Linked DNA regions of Homo sapiens: region 1 is linked to region 2. The links are contacts of gene promoters, found by promoter capture Hi-C in blood cells and fetal thymus (Javierre and others, 2016). All regions are on one chromosome and are shown on one strand. Each heading gives the region's core, a stretch centred on a gene start or on the middle of the fragment in contact. The rest is flanking DNA. Distances are from core to core; before and after follow the strand shown.

The links. The method cuts DNA at HindIII sites, captures the fragments that hold promoters and counts their contacts. A CHiCAGO score of 5 or more calls a contact.
Region 1: a fragment that was not itself captured here is called in contact with the fragment with the promoter of MYO18B in region 2 in 1 of 17 cell types (total B cells); the score reaches 5.6 in total B cells.

The regions. Positions count from the first base shown.
Region 1 is chr22:25,488,476-25,493,231 of GRCh38, forward strand. No RefSeq gene overlaps it. Among named protein-coding and RNA genes, the nearest start is that of MIR6817, 35 kb to the left of the region's middle. The HindIII fragment of the contact is 5,884 bases long and covers 1-4,756 here.
Region 2 is chr22:25,740,720-25,745,368 of GRCh38, forward strand. It overlaps MYO18B (myosin XVIIIB), which reads left to right and starts at 1,469. Exons shown (of 44, transcript NM_032608.7): 1 at 1,469-1,574. The HindIII fragment of the contact is 14,245 bases long and covers 1-4,649 here.

The DNA of each region.
Region 1 (4,756 bases), core at 1,358-3,857, 250 kb before region 2:
GGAGCTCTGGGCACCAAGCCAAGCCTAGGAGGGCAGTTCCCTTTGCTCATGAGCTCTGTTAATGTAGCTGTGTCCTGCTGAGATTCAATTCCCACGGACTTCACTGTTGCCACCAAATGTGTGCATATGAGGGCTCTGCAGAAGTAAGAGTCACAGGGGCCTGGAATGAGAGCAGAGGAGGAGGTGCAGAAATTGAAATGCCAGTCATACACACTCTGTTACATTAACTCTTTGTGGTAGACTAACATAATAATAACCCCACAAAGAGTCTGTCTCTCTGAGTCCACACTCTTTTGCAATGTACTTTGTTGCTTTTCCCCTCTTGAATTTATGACTTGCTTTGGCCAACAGAATGTGGCATGAGTGATGCTGGGTATTTTCCAAGGCTTGGTCTTAAAGGCTGCTGCAGTTTCTTTTGCTGTTTTGCAACTTTGGTTCCACCAGGCTGTGTAGAAGCCCAGTTTCACCTGTGTGGATGAGAGGCCACATGAAGAAAACTGGAGATGGCCCAGTAGACAGCCAGCACCAAATGCCAGACACTGGCAGTTGGCCTCTTCAGCTCAACCAATCCTTTAACCAAATGCAGCCTTGTGAATGAACTCAGGCAAAACTGGGGGAGGAACTGCAAAAGCAACCCAAAGCATCAGGAGCCACAAGGCAATGTTGTCTTAAGGCACATCGTGGGGTGGTTTGCAACCCAGCAAAGGCTAATGAAATGCTTCTGTAACAAACATCCCCAAAACTCGTGGCTCAAATGATAAAAATTTTCTTCTTGTTTCCATCCCAGTCTGGTGTGGATGAAGACTTCTGCTCCATGTAGTCATTGAGGAGCCCACATTTCTTCTATACTCTAGCTTTTATCATATTACAAAGTTCCTCTACTGAATCCTTAGGCAATGAGGAAAGAAAGTGCATGGAAGATGTCCCAGGAGGCTCAGGGGTGAGGCATGGAAGTGACCCATGTCACTCCTGCCTCCGTTCGGCTGGTGGAACTCAGCCTTGTGGCTAGGTGGATAGGAAGAAAAGGGAAATGGCATAGGAAACAACTAGCCAGTTCCAGCCTCTCTTGCCAGACTCTGGGCTCAGTGCTTCGTCCTCAGCATCTCATTAAAGACTCATAGTCACCCTTTGGGATAGGGACTATTCAACAGTCACCCACAGATTTGCACAGCTGTCCAACTTGAGCCAGTGATGAATAAAGACAGATATGGTTGCTGTTCTTTCATGGAGCTTACATCCTAGGGGAGAAGTCAATCCCTAAATAAGGAAACTAATAGATAAATAATTTCAGAGAGTGATACATTCTATGCAACACATATCAGAGTGGTGGTTTAGAGTGAGGGGTGCTATTTTGGATAGAGTGGGCAGGGCAGCTTTCTGCGAGGAGGTGACTAAATTAAGATCTTGCTGTGAAGATGTTTAGTTGCCTGCTACCCTCCACTTCTCCCTGAATAAAACAGCCATGCTCTGCTGCTGAGTTCAGCAATATCCCTGGCTATATAAGCATGTTTCCTAGCTTCCTTGCAGGAGGGTTGGATAGGAGTAAATAAGTTGTTAGATAGACATTGCTTATAAGTTCCTTAAAAGAGGAAAACTCAACTCAAGAGGTGAGAATAATTTTGCCATTCCTTCCTTTTTCCTGTCTATAATGCAGATGTGATGGCTGGTGCTGCAGCAGCCATCAGGCACCATAAGGTGAGATGCTAAGAATGGTAGAGCAGAAAGACACAAGGAGCCTTCGTCTTGTGTGGAAACTCTATACTGCCCTGGATGTCATCCTTCTACACTTCTTTTGTATGAGGGAAATAACCATGGTATATCTTGTTTATACCATTATTATTTGGAACTGCTGTTGCTGAAAGCAATTCCTACATAATACAGGCTGTGTAATGGGATTTTATGATGAGCAAATTGAGACTTAGAACAGTTAGCACTTCTTGCAAAGTAACATAGTGGAATTGAGGAGTTAGGATTTGAACTCAGGTCTGTGGGGCCCTAAGTTCAGAGTTTTGGTTGTAGCCCAGCCTCCCTTGGCTGGGGGTGGGGGTGGACAGAAGGAGTTAGCCAACAGTATCAACTATGGAAAGGAGTGTACTGACTGGATTAAGGATTGCTTCAAAGAGCCCCCAAATTCACTTTTACGAGGTAAATTTTTCCTTCTTGACTGTATGATCCTGATCTAGGTTCTGGGATCCTAACTTCTCTCAGCCCCGTCTTCGTCCACTGCCAGGTGGGTGCATCTATCCTCTTATTGCTGTCTCAACATACTCTTGCAATACCCTCACTGTAGCAGCACTCAGTGAACCACCCTCCCAGGACCCTCACACAGACGTCTAAGCAAGTATCAGCCCAGCCCTTTGCTCCTAGTGCCAGGTTGATCCCAGGGAAGCCAAGTTAAAAAACAAATGCAAGGACATTTTGAGGGGAAAAGTCTCACTGATAGCCAAGGTAATACAGAAGCCAAGAGAAGATATTTGCTGCCAGGCAACCAGGCTGAGTTTTATGGGAGTTGGGGGTAGTGAAATGCATGCATGTCAGTCATTCGAATGCCTCTACCTCCAAAGCATGCTGCCTCCTGGAACCACTCCATTCGACTTTCCCACCCACGATTCCTCAGGCTTCCTGCAAATTGTGGGGGCCTGCAGAAGTCACCCCAAGTTGCTCAATCCAAGAAATTTTCCTCTGAGCTGACAATAAACCCTTAGACTAAATTGACTCAGATTGCACACTCAGGAAGAGACTAGACACACCTCGGCAGAAAATTGGATTTGTGCAGCTTGAAAAAGATGCTCTTGTAATTCCTCTAAAGCCTGCGAGCCACCTAAAGGGCCCTAGACATGTATAGTAGCCCATCTCCAGACCTTTGTCTGTACTGTTCCCTCAGCCAAGAAGAATTTTGCCTAGCTTTTTACATGACTGATTCTTTCTTACCCTTGAGATCTCAGGTTAAATGTCACCCCCTCAAGAAATACAAACATGTCCACACAAAAGCCTGTACAGAAGTGTTCATAGCAGCATTATTCATAATAATCCCAAAGTGGAAACAACCTAGAGTCCATCAACTGATTGATGATTCCACAAAACATGCTATATACGTGCTATATCCTTGCAACACAGTATTATTTGGCCATCAAAAAGGATTGACATCCTTTTCTTTCTTTCTGTCTTTCTTTCTGTCTGTCTGTCTTTCTTTCTTTCTTTCTTTCTTTCTTTCTTTCTTTCTTTTTCTTTCTTTGTCTTTCTTTCTCTTTCTTTCTTTTCTTTTACTTTCTTTCTTTTCTTTCTTTCTTTCTTTCCTTTTCTTTTCTTTTCTTTTCTTTTCTTCTTTCTTTGTCTCTTTCTCTCTTTCTCTCTTTCTGAGACAGAGTCTTGCTCTGTTGCCCAGGCTGGAGTGCAGTGGCATGACCATGGCTCAATGTAGCCTTAACCTCCCAGGCTCAAGCAATCCTAGCTCAGCCTCCCAAGTAGCTGGGACCACAGGTGTGTGCCACCACACCCTGCTACTCTTTTTTTTTTTCAGAGAGGGGGTCTTGCTCTGCTGTCCAGGCTAGTCTTTAACTCTTGGGCTCAAACTCCCAACTCTGTCTCCCAAAGTCCTAGGATTGTAAGTGTGAGCCATCGTACCTGGCAGGACTGATGTTCTGATACATGCTACAATATGAATAAACCTTGAAAGTATTATGTTAAGTGAAAGAAGTCAGGCTCAGAAGGCCACATATGGTATGATTCCATTCATAATAAATGTCCAGAATAGGAAAATCCATAGAGACAGAGAGTAGATTAGTGGTTGTCAGGGCCTTTGGGGGAAGGAGAGAATGGGGAGTGACTGCTAATAGGTGTAAGCCTTTTTTGGGGGGTGATGAAATGTTCTAAAATTAGATTGTAGTGATGATTGCACAACCTTGCAAAAATATTAAAAACCACTGAATTTTGCACTTTAAAAGGGTAACTATTACAGCATATGAATTATAACTCAATAAATCTGTTTAACAAAATATCACTCCCTCAAAGAGACCTTCTGTGAGTCCTCTCTCTGAAGGTGGTGTTCTTTTAAAAAGTTTTTTTGAGACAGGGTCTTGCTCTGTCACCCAGGTTATAGTGCAGTGGTGCAATCTCAGCTCACTGCAGCCTCAACCTACTGGGCTCAAGCGATCCTCCTTCCTCAGGCCTGAGTAGCTGGGAGTACAGGTGCACACCACCATGCTTGGCTAATTTTTTAAATTTAATTTTATTTCTTTAGAGATAGAGTCTCACTGTGTTGCCCAGGCTAGTCTCAAACTCCTGTGTTCAAGTGAGTCAGGAGTCTCCTGCCTTGGTCTCCCAAAGCGCTGCGTGAACCACCATGCCTGGCCTCCTGATGTTCTTTAATTCAGCCCCTGCTTTATTCAGTTCCTCATCCTGTTGGCCACCAGCTGTGATAATTTGGTACATTTATGTGTATGTTGTGTGTGTGCCCATGCTCGTGTGTGGTCCTCATTTCTAGCAGCAAGCTACATAAGAGCAGGGGGCTACATCTGCCTCACCAGAACTGTTTCCCCAGCACTCAGTACAGGGATGGTTGTCAATTGAATATCCGTTGGTTGATTGAAGGAGTCCTGGCACACTGTAGCTGGAAGGGAACTGAGTGCTCATCCAGTCCTTCCTGTTTGCAGATGCAGAGGCCAACTGCTCAGAGGCGGAGGGGCCCACTCAAGGACTCAGCTTTCAATGGCTGTGTTCTTTAATTTTATTCTCCCTCAGTAGTTTTCCAAAGATT
Region 2 (4,649 bases), core at 219-2,718:
TACAGGTGTGAGCCACCATACCCGGCCTAGACTGCCATTTTCTAAGCAGCCTTCCCTTAGTGTTTCAATGAACTTCTGATTGAATGCTAATTTTCAAGACCTCGGCAGAAGTGAGTACTTTGGGAAAATATTGCTCGATGAGCTCTGGGGAAAGAGGAGCAGCACCACATAGCAATTATTGAAACAATTCTCACAGGAGCAGTATCATGCTGGGCTGATTGCGGTCTTTGGAACCAGAAAGACTTGGATTTGAGTCATGACTCTACCCTTTGCTAGCTGCATGGACCTGCATGGTTTATCCAATTTATTGAAGTCTGTACTTTGCTCCTTTTAGGCAGTGGACAAAGCACTTTTTTTGTTGTTGTTTTTTTGAGATAGAGTCTCTTATCGCCTAGGCTAGAGTGCAGTGGCGTGACCTTAGCTCATTGCAACCTCCGCCTCCTGGGTTCAAGCAATTCTCCTGCCTCAGCCTCCCAAGTAGCTGGGATCACAGACAACCACTACCCCACCCAGCTGATTTTTTTTTTTTTTTTTGAGATGGAGTCTCTCTCTGTCACCCAGGCTGGAGTGCAGTGGCGCGATCTCGGCTTACTGCAAGCTCCGCCTGTAGCTGGGACTACAGGCGCCCACCACCACGCCCGGCTAATTTTGTTTTTGTATTTTTAGTAGAGACGGGGTTTCACTGTGTTAGCCAGGATGGTCTCAATCTCCTGACCTCGTGATATGCCCACCTCGGCTTCCCAAAGTGCCGGGATTACAGACGTGAGCCACCGTGCCAGGCCCAAAGCACTTTTTTATAGCCCCTAGTTTGCTGTTGTGTCTGTTTCCTCTACGGCCCGCACAGCCTGGGTTTGAATTCTGGCTCTCCATGGCCTTGGGCAAGTTGGTTAACTTTTTGTGTCTCAATTTCCCCACTTGTAAAGTGGGGCTGGGGAAAAACCCTACCTCATAGGGAACATTAAGTGAGTTCATGAAAGCCCTCGGTGTGTGGCATGCGATAACCACTACCTAAGCATAAGGTATGTTTACATGCACTGGTTGTTTACCACGACGCACCAGCATTCATTCAAGTTATTTTCTTCCAGAGTCTGCCTGGAATGTAGAACCGGCCAGCTCTCCTCCTCAAACAGTTCCTGCAACCTCTGGTTATCTGTGTGGGCAGAGGCGGGAGTGTGGGTGTGTGGCCCTGCCCTGGGACAGGGATGACGAGAGAGCATGTGCTTGTGTCCAGAGCTGTCCCCTTCCCTGCTCAGGGGCCACCAAATATGTCCATGGTCTCTGCTGCCTGGTCAACGGCCACCCCGGGCTGCCGTCTCCTGGCCAGACCTGGAGCTCACAAGCTAATTTTAGAAATGACTGGTCGACTCAGCTGCTGCTATCACATTGGCCCAGAAGGAGGGTGGGGGGAGGACGGGTCGGGGAGGGGCAGTAAGGGGAAGGGATGTGTGTCGGTGTGTGTGGAGAGGGTGCTCCTTCGCTCCTGCTTTCCCGGCTCGGTGGGGTCCCTTCGCGGCCACCCGGGGAGACGTCTTAGACAGTCGTGGTTCCTGTGATCTGTGTCCTCTTTGCAGAAGGTACTATTGGGCTGGGTTTTAGACGGGCACCTTGCGAGCGGATCGGCGAGTTTTAATTTTCCGGAATGCGCTGCTGGGGGCTGCGGTGGCAGGCCTCCGGTCTTTTGGTCTATTTTAGGCCTTTCTGGTGTTGAGAGCTTCCGAGGCCTGATTCCTTTGCCTGTTGCCCGTGCTGCTCACTTTGAAAACAAGAGTGTTTCGGTGGAAGGATTTGAGAACAAAATGCTGGGGCAAATGGACATTCGTAAGAATCACTCTCCTCAGGCCCCAGCTGTTCGCTAATAATTTTTAAAAATGTGTTTAGAATCATGAGTTAATCTCCACTGTGAATCTTTGCCCGCAGACGTCAGGGTTTATATTTTTCCTCAACTACCAGTAATTTCTGCTTCACTGGTGTTCAGTTATGGTCGGGGAAGAGCCAGGCTTCCCCTTTCGTGTTAACAACGCTGTTGAGTCGAAATGTTAATTTTAATGTTCTTTTTTAAACTGCAAATTAAGCATGTATGAGTGTTGGGGGAAGGGCAATGGAAGTTCATGGCTGAAGGTTTCAATTTCATGCCACCTTCCTTGAGCTCTGTCTGAGGGAAGGTGTCTTATCTGGCACCCCGGATAGCAGGCATTTCTCTGAATGAAGAAGATTCACAGGTCCCAGTGGCCCCATAGTGGGGCAGAAGGGGGCTATGCTTTGACATGGAGCTCTCTCCCAGGAGAGGAGAAGACCTCACCAGCTACAGGCCTCTGGGCTGCTGCCTTCCTGCAGCTTTTCCATGGAGGAGGCCAGGAGTGGGGAGGCCCGGAATGGGGAGCCCAGTCGGCTCCCAGTCGGCTCCAAGCTGTCCAGTCTGGCCTCAACCCGCAAGTGTGGGGATCTGGGCTTCTATCCTGTAGGGCCTGGAATACGACGAGGCTGTTACTTTCACTTTGTGGCTGTCCAAAAAGATGCTGCCTCATTCAGTGCACCAGCTCATGGAGGCTGAGTGTCCCACTAGGGCTTCTAGACTCCAACAAGGATAATGGTGGCCTTGGGTGCTGTATCCATTGCTGACCTAAGTTGTATTCTCCTATGCCTGGGTACCATGTCCAGTGTGTACCTTGGGAGCAGAAAAGAGAGGGGTCTATATACTCTTAGGCTATGGATGAGTTCTAGAAAATAATAGTGGAGAGGAGAGAGAGAAAAGAAGGAAGAGGAGGAGGAGAAGGAGAAGAAGAGAAGGAGGAGGAGGAAAAAAGCAGGAGGAGAAAGAGAAGAAGGAGGAGAAGAATAATAGCAAAGGAAAAGGCCAAAAGAAAAGGCCAAGTGGGTGGAGGAGGGAGGAGAAGGAGGAAGAGGAGGAGGAGAGGGAGTCTCCTGGTCTCCTGGCTTTTGAAGGGCTGCATGTTACCAATCAACAAATATTTGATGTCACCTGCCTCCAGGCCTGGTCACCTTGAATATCCTGGTGTGGGCTCTGTAACCTTGGATGAGTACTCTCCCCAGTCGGAACTTAGTTTCTCCTTCTAAAACCTGAGGGGGTTGGGCTAGACCACCTCTGGGATCTTTCCTAGGATTCAGCATCCAGGAAGGTTTTTCTTGAAGTGACGGTCGTTGACGACCTACCCATCAGACTCATGTGGGGCAGGAGGCGGGGGGCTGTTTTAAAATGCAGATTCCTGGGTTCATCCTAGACCTTTTGAACAGTCTTGGGGGAAGGGGCCCAGAAATCCACAGATTTTAAACCTCACAGGTGGTTCTGGTGCCCACCCAAATTGGAGAAGAGCTTTTCCTTTCACTTGAGCTAACAAAACCACAGAAGGCTGTTGCTCAGCACCTGCCCTGTCAAAACTCATGGAATTTCCATGTTTCACAAACATGGAAAACGTGCACAGCACTTTATTAGGGTCTAACTATCGCAAAGATTTTATTGGGCAGGTGTTCCTCCAGGGGTAAGATCAAGACTTTCTATGGCATTTTGAGGTGGGAATGGAGGGCCCCCAAACTGAGCAGAACCACTTCCAGCTGCCAAAAGATAGGGACCTGGGGCTGTGAGCCTACAAGGCTATGGGGAGATGGCCCTTCACTGGGTCCTGCTAGATACAAACAACTGTCTGAATGGCCCATTTGAAGCACATGGTCAGCTGCTGTGGTGTGTGGCATATCTTTAATATTTAAACAAAGTGGCCGGGCGCGGGGGCTCACGCCTTTAATCCCAGCACTTTGGGAGGCCGAGGTGGGCAGATCACGAGGTCAGGAGATCGAGACCATCCTGGCTAACACGGTGAAACCCCGTCTCTACTAAAAACACAAAAAAAAATTAGCCGGGCGTGGTGGTGGGTGCCTGTAGTCCCAGCTACTTGGGAGGCTGAGGCAGGAGAATGGCATGAACCTGGGAGGTGGAGCTTGCAGTGAGCCGAGATCACGCCATTGCACTCCAGCCTGGGGACAGAGAGAGACTCCGTCTCAAAAATAAAAATAAAAATAAAAATAAACAAAATGAAATTAAATTTTCTGAAAAATGGAGGAGGTGGGTTTGAGACCAGGGAGGATCCCCCTCCCCTCCAGAGTGCTGCCAAATCCAACCCCTCCTGTTGAGAGATGGTGCAGCTGAGGCACAGAGAGGGAAAGCCACTTGTTCAAGGACACACAGCCCTGCAGCAAGAGCATTGGGCCAAGATCAGCCCCTGCTGTCACGGCTGGTGTTCAGGGAGCAACCACGAGCCCCTTATGTTAGAAATAATAGTCAAATCCACCATATATATTATCCCCCCGCACCAAGATCTTAAGGAAAGGATAAACCTCAGCTCTCATTTGAATGGGGGCAGCAAAAATAAATTGCGTCTTATTTTATTTTTATTTTGAAACAAGGGCTGGCTCTATCACCCAGGCTGGTGTGCAGTGGCCCAATCTCGGCTCACTGCAACCTCTGCCTCCGAGGTTTAAGCCATCCTCCCATCTCAACCTCCTGAGTAGCTGGGACTACAGGAGTGCACCACCACGCCCGGCTAATTTTTATACTTTTTGTAGAGATGGGGTTTCACCATGTTGCCCAGTCTGGTCTCAAACTTGGGAGCTCAAGTGATCCACCCACCTCAGCCTCC